Regions from separate parts of the Homo sapiens genome. Here region 1 is linked to region 2. Evidence: promoter capture Hi-C in 16 types of primary human blood cells and fetal thymus (Javierre and others, 2016). All regions are on one chromosome and are shown on one strand. Each heading gives the region's core, a stretch centred on a gene start or on the middle of the fragment in contact. The rest is flanking DNA. Distances are from core to core; before and after follow the strand shown.

Evidence for each region. The method cuts DNA at HindIII sites, captures the fragments that hold promoters and counts their contacts. A CHiCAGO score of 5 or more calls a contact.
Region 1: a fragment that was not itself captured here is called in contact with the fragment with the promoter of PRDM6 in region 2 in 2 of 17 cell types (megakaryocytes and erythroblasts); the score reaches 6.9 in megakaryocytes.

Annotation. Positions count from the first base shown.
Region 1 is chr5:123,610,485-123,614,241 of GRCh38, forward strand. The region is part of intron 13 of CSNK1G3 (casein kinase 1 gamma 3); the gene reads left to right. Among named protein-coding and RNA genes, the nearest start is that of CSNK1G3, 100 kb to the left of the region's middle. The HindIII fragment of the contact is 2,856 bases long and covers 470-3,325 here.
Region 2 is chr5:123,086,583-123,090,749 of GRCh38, forward strand. PRDM6 (PR/SET domain 6) reads left to right here and starts at 2,659. Exons shown (of 8, transcript NM_001136239.4): 1 at 2,659-2,937; 2 at 3,418-4,024. The coding sequence starts at 3,433. PRDM6-AS1 (PRDM6 antisense RNA 1) reads right to left here and starts at 3,734. Exons shown (of 2, transcript NR_146771.1): 1 at 3,490-3,734; 2 at 1-1,357. RefSeq lists enhancers at 1,309-1,853, 1,854-2,398. The HindIII fragment of the contact is 4,313 bases long and covers 1,950-4,167 here.

The sequences.
Region 1 (3,757 bases), core at 648-3,147, 520 kb after region 2:
TCTGGGTGGATTTGAGAGAAGGAAGTATATACAAATATATGAAGAAAAAGGCAATGAACAAAGGAGAAATGGTGGTGCGGTGTCAATAGCACAAGCCTGTATGTGTTTTAGGACTTTGATCCATTTTGATTGCCTGTTTGTTGCCTAATTGTATTTAAAGAAACTAAGGTTGTTTCTAAAGTTCATCATAAGTAGGACTTAACATATATTCCCAAAGAATTTTAGAGTAGAGATGTAGCTTCACATTTTGAGAGGCTGAGGTGGAAGGATTGCTTGAGCTCAGGAGTTTGAGACCAGCCTGGGCAACATAGTGAGATGTTGTCTCCACTAAAAATAATGAAAAAAAAATTTACCAGCTCGGCGCCTGTAGTCCCAGCTACTCAGGAGGCTGAAGTGGGAGGACCACTATTAAATAAGTACTAACTTTGTGCCAGTTTGTTGGGCTATAACTGTGAGCAGTCCTTTATGAAGCTTAAATTCTAGTGCAAAGGCAGATAATAAATAAATAAAATAATTTCAAAGTAGGAGTAAGTTATTACAGAAAAATAAAACAATAGTGTGCTCAAGTGGCTACATGGGAGCAGCACTGTTTCAGATTAAGTGCTGGGGAAGAGGAAGCAATTGAGATGAGACCTGATTTCTTAATCTCTAAGACTATAAATTAGCTGTTTCGGTAATTACTTTTATCTTAAGAAATAAGCCATAAGGTTAAAACATCAATTTACTTCCTAACTTCTGTAAGTATATCGTATTTTGAGAACCTCTCTCTTGTCTATTTGGATGCATTTGTATCACATAAGGCAATGCTGTCCTCTGGTGGTAGTAACTTTAATAGCATGCCAGCTTTACTTTTGCAAATCTTTATAAGGACGTTCTTTATTTAGTGGGAATTATTTAAAATAGATGTCCTTTTTAGATTGTGTTTGAATTTAAGGGCCATTAGAATTTATTTGAAAATCTTATTTAGTCTCAAATAAATGCTTGGCGTAGTTCAGTAAAACACTGTTGAAGGAAAGATTACTTAAGTGTAAAGAACTCAACTCTCAGAACTCAACTCTCAGAACTCTCAGTACTGGAAATACAAACTAAGCAAAGTAAATTGCTGATACAAGTGTAGAAAATTTGGGACTTTGTCTTGTTCATCAAAATGTGTATTACATTAAATTGCCCATTTCAAAGGGCTAATACAACTTTAGAAAATTTTGAAAGAATCTACTTTGGAATTTGAAAGGATAGTGTTTAAGAATAGTGAACATTATTAAAGGAATTTTATATCAAACAATAAATTTCCATTGAAATATGGCCATATTCTTAAATTTAATATTCTAAGTATTTGGTCTGTCACTTCTAAATACCTATTTTTATGTCTTGCTTTCTGCTATTTGGATATTTTTCTGCTCTTTTCTAAGTCTTAAATTTAAAGGTTCATTTGGAGTAAAGGATTTTATCTTTTAGAAAGTAATTGAGATTTGAGAAATATTAGGTAGCTGACAGTTAAAAATAAATTTGACTTATTTTTTTAAATCCAGATCAAATCTCTTACATGTGTAGTCTTGTTGTACTGTGGCAGCTCTTCTCTAGGCTCTTGACTGGGTAATCCATTTCAGTTCTTTCTGCTAGTCACCTCCATGAGAGTAAAGTTGATAAACATTCATCATTACATATATTTCTAGTTGAATCTTTATCAGCTGGTCCACAATTTTAAATTATTTACATTCCACGGTCTAGTCGGTGTTTACTGTTTGGTTTACTTAAAAAAATGCAGTTGTGTAATTTGGTTTGCAGTACCCTCATAGTAGTTTCATAATTATGGCAGAAATCACAATAAATAATTTAAAATTATTTTTGACTAAAGATAATGTGGGTAGAGAGATTATGTAATTTAACTGGACAGTGTAGATTTCTGTTTACATTTATTTCACAGAAGTATATAAAACATACCTAGTAGTTATTTTATATTCTGTAATCTTTTGCCGGGTGGGACACTTGAAGCTATTTTTTTTTTTTTTTTGGAACAGAGTCTCACTCTGTCGCCCAGGCTGGAGTGCAATGGCGCGACCTTGGCTCACTGCAACCTCCGCCTCCTGGGTTCAAGTGATTCTCCTGCCTCAGCCTCCTGAGTAGCTGGGATTACAGGTGCCTGTCACCACGCCTGGCTAATTTTTGTATTTTTAGTAGAGACAGGGTTTTACCATGTTGGTCAGGCTGGTCTTGAACTCCTGACCTTGTGATCTGCCCACCTTGGCCTCCCAAAGTGCTGGGATTACACGCATGAGCCACCCCTCCTGGCCAAAACTATTCTTCTATGAATATAGATTAGTAAGAATTATAGAAACATCTTTATAAGGGCATATTATACACAGTCTGAATTGGCAGCTCTCGATGATGAAATCACCATGTATATAAATATACTTTGCTTTTATTACAAAATATGATTTATAAACATGCCCACATACCCACAGAGGACTTCAGTGGAAACCAGGGATACTCAACCATGCTTGCCTGCGCCAAAAGTAAATTCAACCTTAGGAAGGGGTTGACTGTTTAAAGGTTAAAAGAAAAGGTGCCTAACTATATGTAGTGTCTGTCATGTTGTATATTTTAATAGACTCTTTTATGTCTGGAAGGGGAAAATGCCATACCTTCATGCCTTTATTTGAAGGATTGTGAGGCATTTAAGATAGATGTGTATTTAATTTTTTTCTTTTTTTTTTTTGGTGGGAGCAGATCAGTGATTTTTTCAGTTCATACCAGACCACAGCATTTTCCCACAGCAGCCTTGATGTGTTCATCTCCTCTTTTAGAGACAGGGTCTTGCCCTGTCACACAGACTGGGGTTCAGTGGCACAATCATAGATCAAACATTCCTCCTGCCTCAGCCTCTCAAGGAGATGGGGTAACAGGCGGGTGCCACCATGTCCAGTGCATGTGTGTGTGTGTGTGTGTGTGCGTATGTATGTATAATATAATATATGTGTGTACATTTATATATGTATGTGTGTATATATATATTTAGAGATATTTGTGTATGTGTATATGTAGTTAGAGAGAGAGAGATATTTAGAGATGGGGTCTTGCTGTATTGTCCAGGCTGGTCTTGAATTCTTAAACTCCTGAGCTCAAGCAATCCTCCTGCCTCGGCCTCTCAAAGTGCTGGGATTACAGGCATGAGCCACTGTGCCCAGCCAAGATTTTTTTTCACCTAGAAATAAAAGTCAGTATTATATTTTTTTGCATATACAGTTTTGACTTGTAAAATGGAATCACCTCAATTGTGCTACTTTAAATATTAAGCATAGTTTTTACCTTAACTAAACTTTCAATAAGCTTGACCTTCTTTAACCCTTAAAGAATTCAAAATTGCCAGTCTTGGTATTCTATATAATGTATTTTCTGTCTTTCACTTTTTTAATATGATGGAAAATGTTGACTAGTGTATATTGGAGTGTCTTTTTATTTTTGGAGTCTAAACTGATTATTGGTGAGAATAAACTCCCCAATGTTAGGATCATTATTGCCTTCCTAATGGCTTCAACAGTCACATATAAATATCAGGGAGAAAGGGTGAGAATGCATAGAATGAAATTCTTAATTACTCTTAGTGAAAAACCTTTTGAATTTAATGGCTCCTTTTTATGTTGCATAGAATGTCTTGCTATTCTTAAAAGGCATGTGAATGAAACATAATAGTAATAGCTCTGCCATATTTTCACTAATACGTATGCTTCATTGGTGTAATCACTGTTTATCTTGCACT
Region 2 (4,167 bases), core at 1,409-3,908:
CGGGTGAGGATGCCGAGCTCTGCGGGCATCCCGGAAGCCGCGGTGGAGGCAGGGGCCCCGCTCGGCGCAGTGGGCCTGCTGGGGAGGTGCAGGGGAGGTCCTGACTCCTGGTCTATTCCCTTCCAGACTTTTTCGTTCGCTCCCGGACCTTCAGGGCTCTCCCTCAAACTTTCTCCTGCCCCCTTCACGGGAGGTTCCTGTAGCCTCTGGGCCTTAGGGTCCCGTAAGCCTCGGGATCGACTTGTGCCCGGGGTGGGTGTGGCGGAAGCTTGAATCGGATTACCCAGGTACGCCACCTGTAGACGTAGTGGGCGAGGGGGACTTTGCTACCTTCTCAGCTTCTTCCCTGGACCCCGCAGCGAGGGGAACCAAATCTCTCCCATGATAGCCCCTCTGGCGTCAGTCTGGACCGAGTGGCTACAGGTTGGACTAGGGTAGGCAGAAGATGCACTTGGCACCTTACCGAACGGTATTTGAATCCGTCTCCATTACTCATTAATGGCGTGACCTTAGGCAACCCATCTAAACTTTCCGAACCTCAGCGGTCCCCATCTACAATATGGGGGTTAATGATAATGCCTTCTCCGCATGTAGGTGGATTAAATGGACATAAAGCGCCTACCCCCGCCCGGCACGTCCAAAACTCTCATTAACAGGTCAGCTAATCTTATTACGAGAGGAACCCTCCCTCCTCCGCTTCCCAGAGTGTGGGCGGCATGAGGCCACGGAAGCAGCTGCTGCAACTAGCATTTCAAAATCCAGAGACTTTCTAATGGTGGCAGGGGGTGAAAGGGTAGGGGGGAGGCAGGGTTGGGACAGGTAGAGGTAGGTTCTTGGGGACTTCCAGTCTTGGGGACCAAGCGCTTGGAACTAGCTGGGTTTGGGCAGAAACAAGAAGGCAAATGACGGGACCGCCGCCGGAGTCCGGACTTCCATCCCTGGAGTTCACTGTCTCTCCCAGGGAACAGAGGAGTGTCCTGGTTTCTCAGCAATGAACCAGGAGAGTGTGAGAAAGAGCATTTGTTTCTTCTCCCGTGGCCCGACAAGCCACTCTTCGGCAGTTCTGCGAGCAGATTAATTGAAACGGGCCTGGAACTTCATCCTCTCCTCCCGATGGAGTTGCTGGAGGTCTGCGGACACTGCCTGGTTAGCCTCCGGGACCACAGCGCCGTGGGCTTTCCCTCGTGGTGTCTGCCTTAAACTTGGGTGCTATCAATCTATCCAACAATGACGGATGACCTTGTCATAACGACGCCAGTCAAAACATTTTCGGTCTAACTCTCTTCCAACCAACATCGAAGCATCCTGAATGAGACCCGGATGAAGTCTGAACAGCACGTTTCCCAGGTTCAGAAAACTTGAGTGGTGGGAAGAGAAAAAGAAACAAGCAGAAATCAGGAAAGAATGGCTATTAATTGCTCAGATTGGCAAGTGCTAAATAAGTTAGGTTGTTTGGAAAAAGATAAATGCCGTTTCTTCTCTTTACGGTATGGCCAGAACCCCGGCGATGGGAAAGTACCTCCTGAGTCGGTCAATTTCACACACCCTGCCTGTGCCCTCTACCATCTACTACCGAAAATGCCAGGAAGAGCTGGGGGGCAAGTGCCTCCTTCGTGGGTGCGAGACTGCATCGAAGGGCTGCCCTGGCACAAAGTCTGGGGAGAGGACATGGTGGAGGTGGGGCTGCACTCCCACCCTGCCCCTCTAACACCAGGTTTTGGGTAGAGAAACCTATGCGTGACCTCCTGCGGCAGCCGCAGGCAGCTGACCGCAAACAGCCTCGCCCGTGTCCCGGAGCAGTTGTGCCACCAGACGTAACACTGGATACTTGTCTCCGGGCCCCAAGAAGGAGAGGGAAAGAGCCCTCCAGAAGACAACCCGAGAAGGGGTCAGCAGAGCGCTGGGTGGAGTGCAGACTCCATTGCAGCCGCCTCCCAGCCCCACGGCCAAGCTTGAGTCCCTCCAGGACCAGCTGCTCTCGGTCTCAGGACCCTCGGTCCTACGCCTCCCTGCACCGACAAGCCTCCCTCCTGGGCTGCAGACAGAGGGTTTCACTGCAGCGCGCAACCCGTCCCGCTCCGCCCCCAACTTTTCTCCCCGGAGGATTTATGTTAGAGGTTGCGTGGCGGGCGAGTGGACTCTGGCACCCAGAAGCACTTCAGGAAAAACTGAGCCGGGCAAAAGCGCAAACCCGGTCCTGGCGGCGCGGGCTTGCTCCAGCGCGGACACCACAGCGTGTGCGGAGATGCATTCCCGTTGCCGCATTTCCACTGCTTTCAAGATCAGGGCACTGAGCTGGGACCCAGAAAAGACATATCATGGGCAGAAAGAGACAACAGGCTAGCGGCAGACGTCACGCCAAAAAAACAGGGGATGGGAGGGCGGAGGAGTTTGTGCGGGAAAGGCGCTCTGGCGATGTGGGTCGGGCCGAATTAGAACTTCCTTCTTCCCTCTCCCCTCCCCTTCTTCTGGCCTGCCTCCCCTCCCCCCTCCGTTCTCTCTCTCTCTCTCTCTCTCTCTCTCTCTCTCTCTCTCTCTCTCTCTCACACACACACACACACACACACACACACACACACACACACACACACACACACACACACACACACTCACTCTATTTTGTGCTGTCGTAAAACCCACGTGTCCAGCCGGGAAGCTGCCAGAGCGTGGAACCAAGGAGCCAGGACGCGGCAGCGGCCAAGCGCAGCAGCCCACGGCGGTTGAGTCGGGCGCCCAGGTCCGTCCGCACTCTCGCGCCCTCCGCGGGCCTCCCAATTTTCTCGCTTGCAGGTCGGGAGGTTTCCGGGCGGCACAATCTCTAGGACTCTCCTCCCGCGCTGCTCAGGGGCATGTAGCGCACGCAGGGCGCACACTCTCGCGCACCCGCACGCTCACCGAGACACCCGCACGCACCCACCGGCAGCACCGAGTTTTCAGGTAAGGTGAGGCTGGTCTGGGACTTAAGAGTCTAGGGCTTGGTAGATAGGAAGGTTGGTGGTCCTAGGTTGGGGGCGGGCGGCGAGACTGTTCTGCCTCCTGGCGCCTGAGGCCAACGCGGCTCGGGCGCTGCGCCACGCCGGCTCGGGTCGGCTCCGGGCGCTGGCTGAGGGCGGGGGCTGCGTCCTGCAGCCGAGTTCTACGGGGCAGCGCCCTCCTGTCGGGCCCCAGCATTGCTGGATGGGAGCTGGACGCTGCGATCGGGGAGGCAGAGCAGGGTGCACACAGCTCCCTCTGTGCGGCGCCGCAGCTTCGGAGTAAACTTTGCGCCCAAGCGGAGTTGGGAAGAGGGAGCCGCGGAACCGGGCGGCCGCCGGCTGAACCACCGGCTCGGGCACTTTCTCCAGGGTCCCAGTGGCCCTCTTCCCGGCCCCTTTCGCCCAGCTCACGCGCCCCCTCTTCCCTGCCCTCTGCCCCCAGTTCGAGGCGCCGGACATGCTGAAGCCCGGAGACCCCGGCGGTTCGGCCTTCCTCAAAGTGGACCCAGCCTACCTGCAGCACTGGCAGCAACTCTTCCCTCACGGAGGCGCAGGCCCGCTCAAGGGCAGCGGCGCCGCGGGTCTCCTGAGCGCGCCGCAGCCTCTTCAGCCGCCGCCGCCGCCCCCGCCCCCGGAGCGCGCTGAGCCTCCGCCGGACAGCCTGCGCCCGCGGCCCGCCTCTCTCTCCTCCGCCTCGTCCACGCCGGCTTCCTCTTCCACCTCCGCCTCCTCCGCCTCCTCCTGCGCTGCTGCGGCCGCTGCCGCCGCGCTGGCTGGTCTCTCGGCCCTGCCGGTGTCGCAGCTGCCGGTGTTCGCGCCTCTAGCCGCCGCTGCCGTCGCCGCCGAGCCGCTGCCCCCCAAGGAACTGTGCCTCGGCGCCACCTCCGGCCCCGGGCCCGTCAAGTGCGGTGGTGGTGGCGGCGGCGGCGGGGAGGGTCGCGGCGCCCCGCGCTTCCGCTGCAGCGCAGAGGAGCTGGACTATTACCTGTATGGCCAGCAGCGCATGGAGATCATCCCGCTCAACCAGCACACCAGCGACCCCAACAACCGTACGTAGCCGCAGCCCGCGCGCTCTCTCCCGGGGCGCCGGCGCCGGCGCCGGCGGGCGCGGGTGCCTGTCAGGGAGGCGGGTCGGATAGGAGTGACACGGGGCCGGGTGGGTGGGGAGCACCTGGTCCTGGCCGCTGGCCCG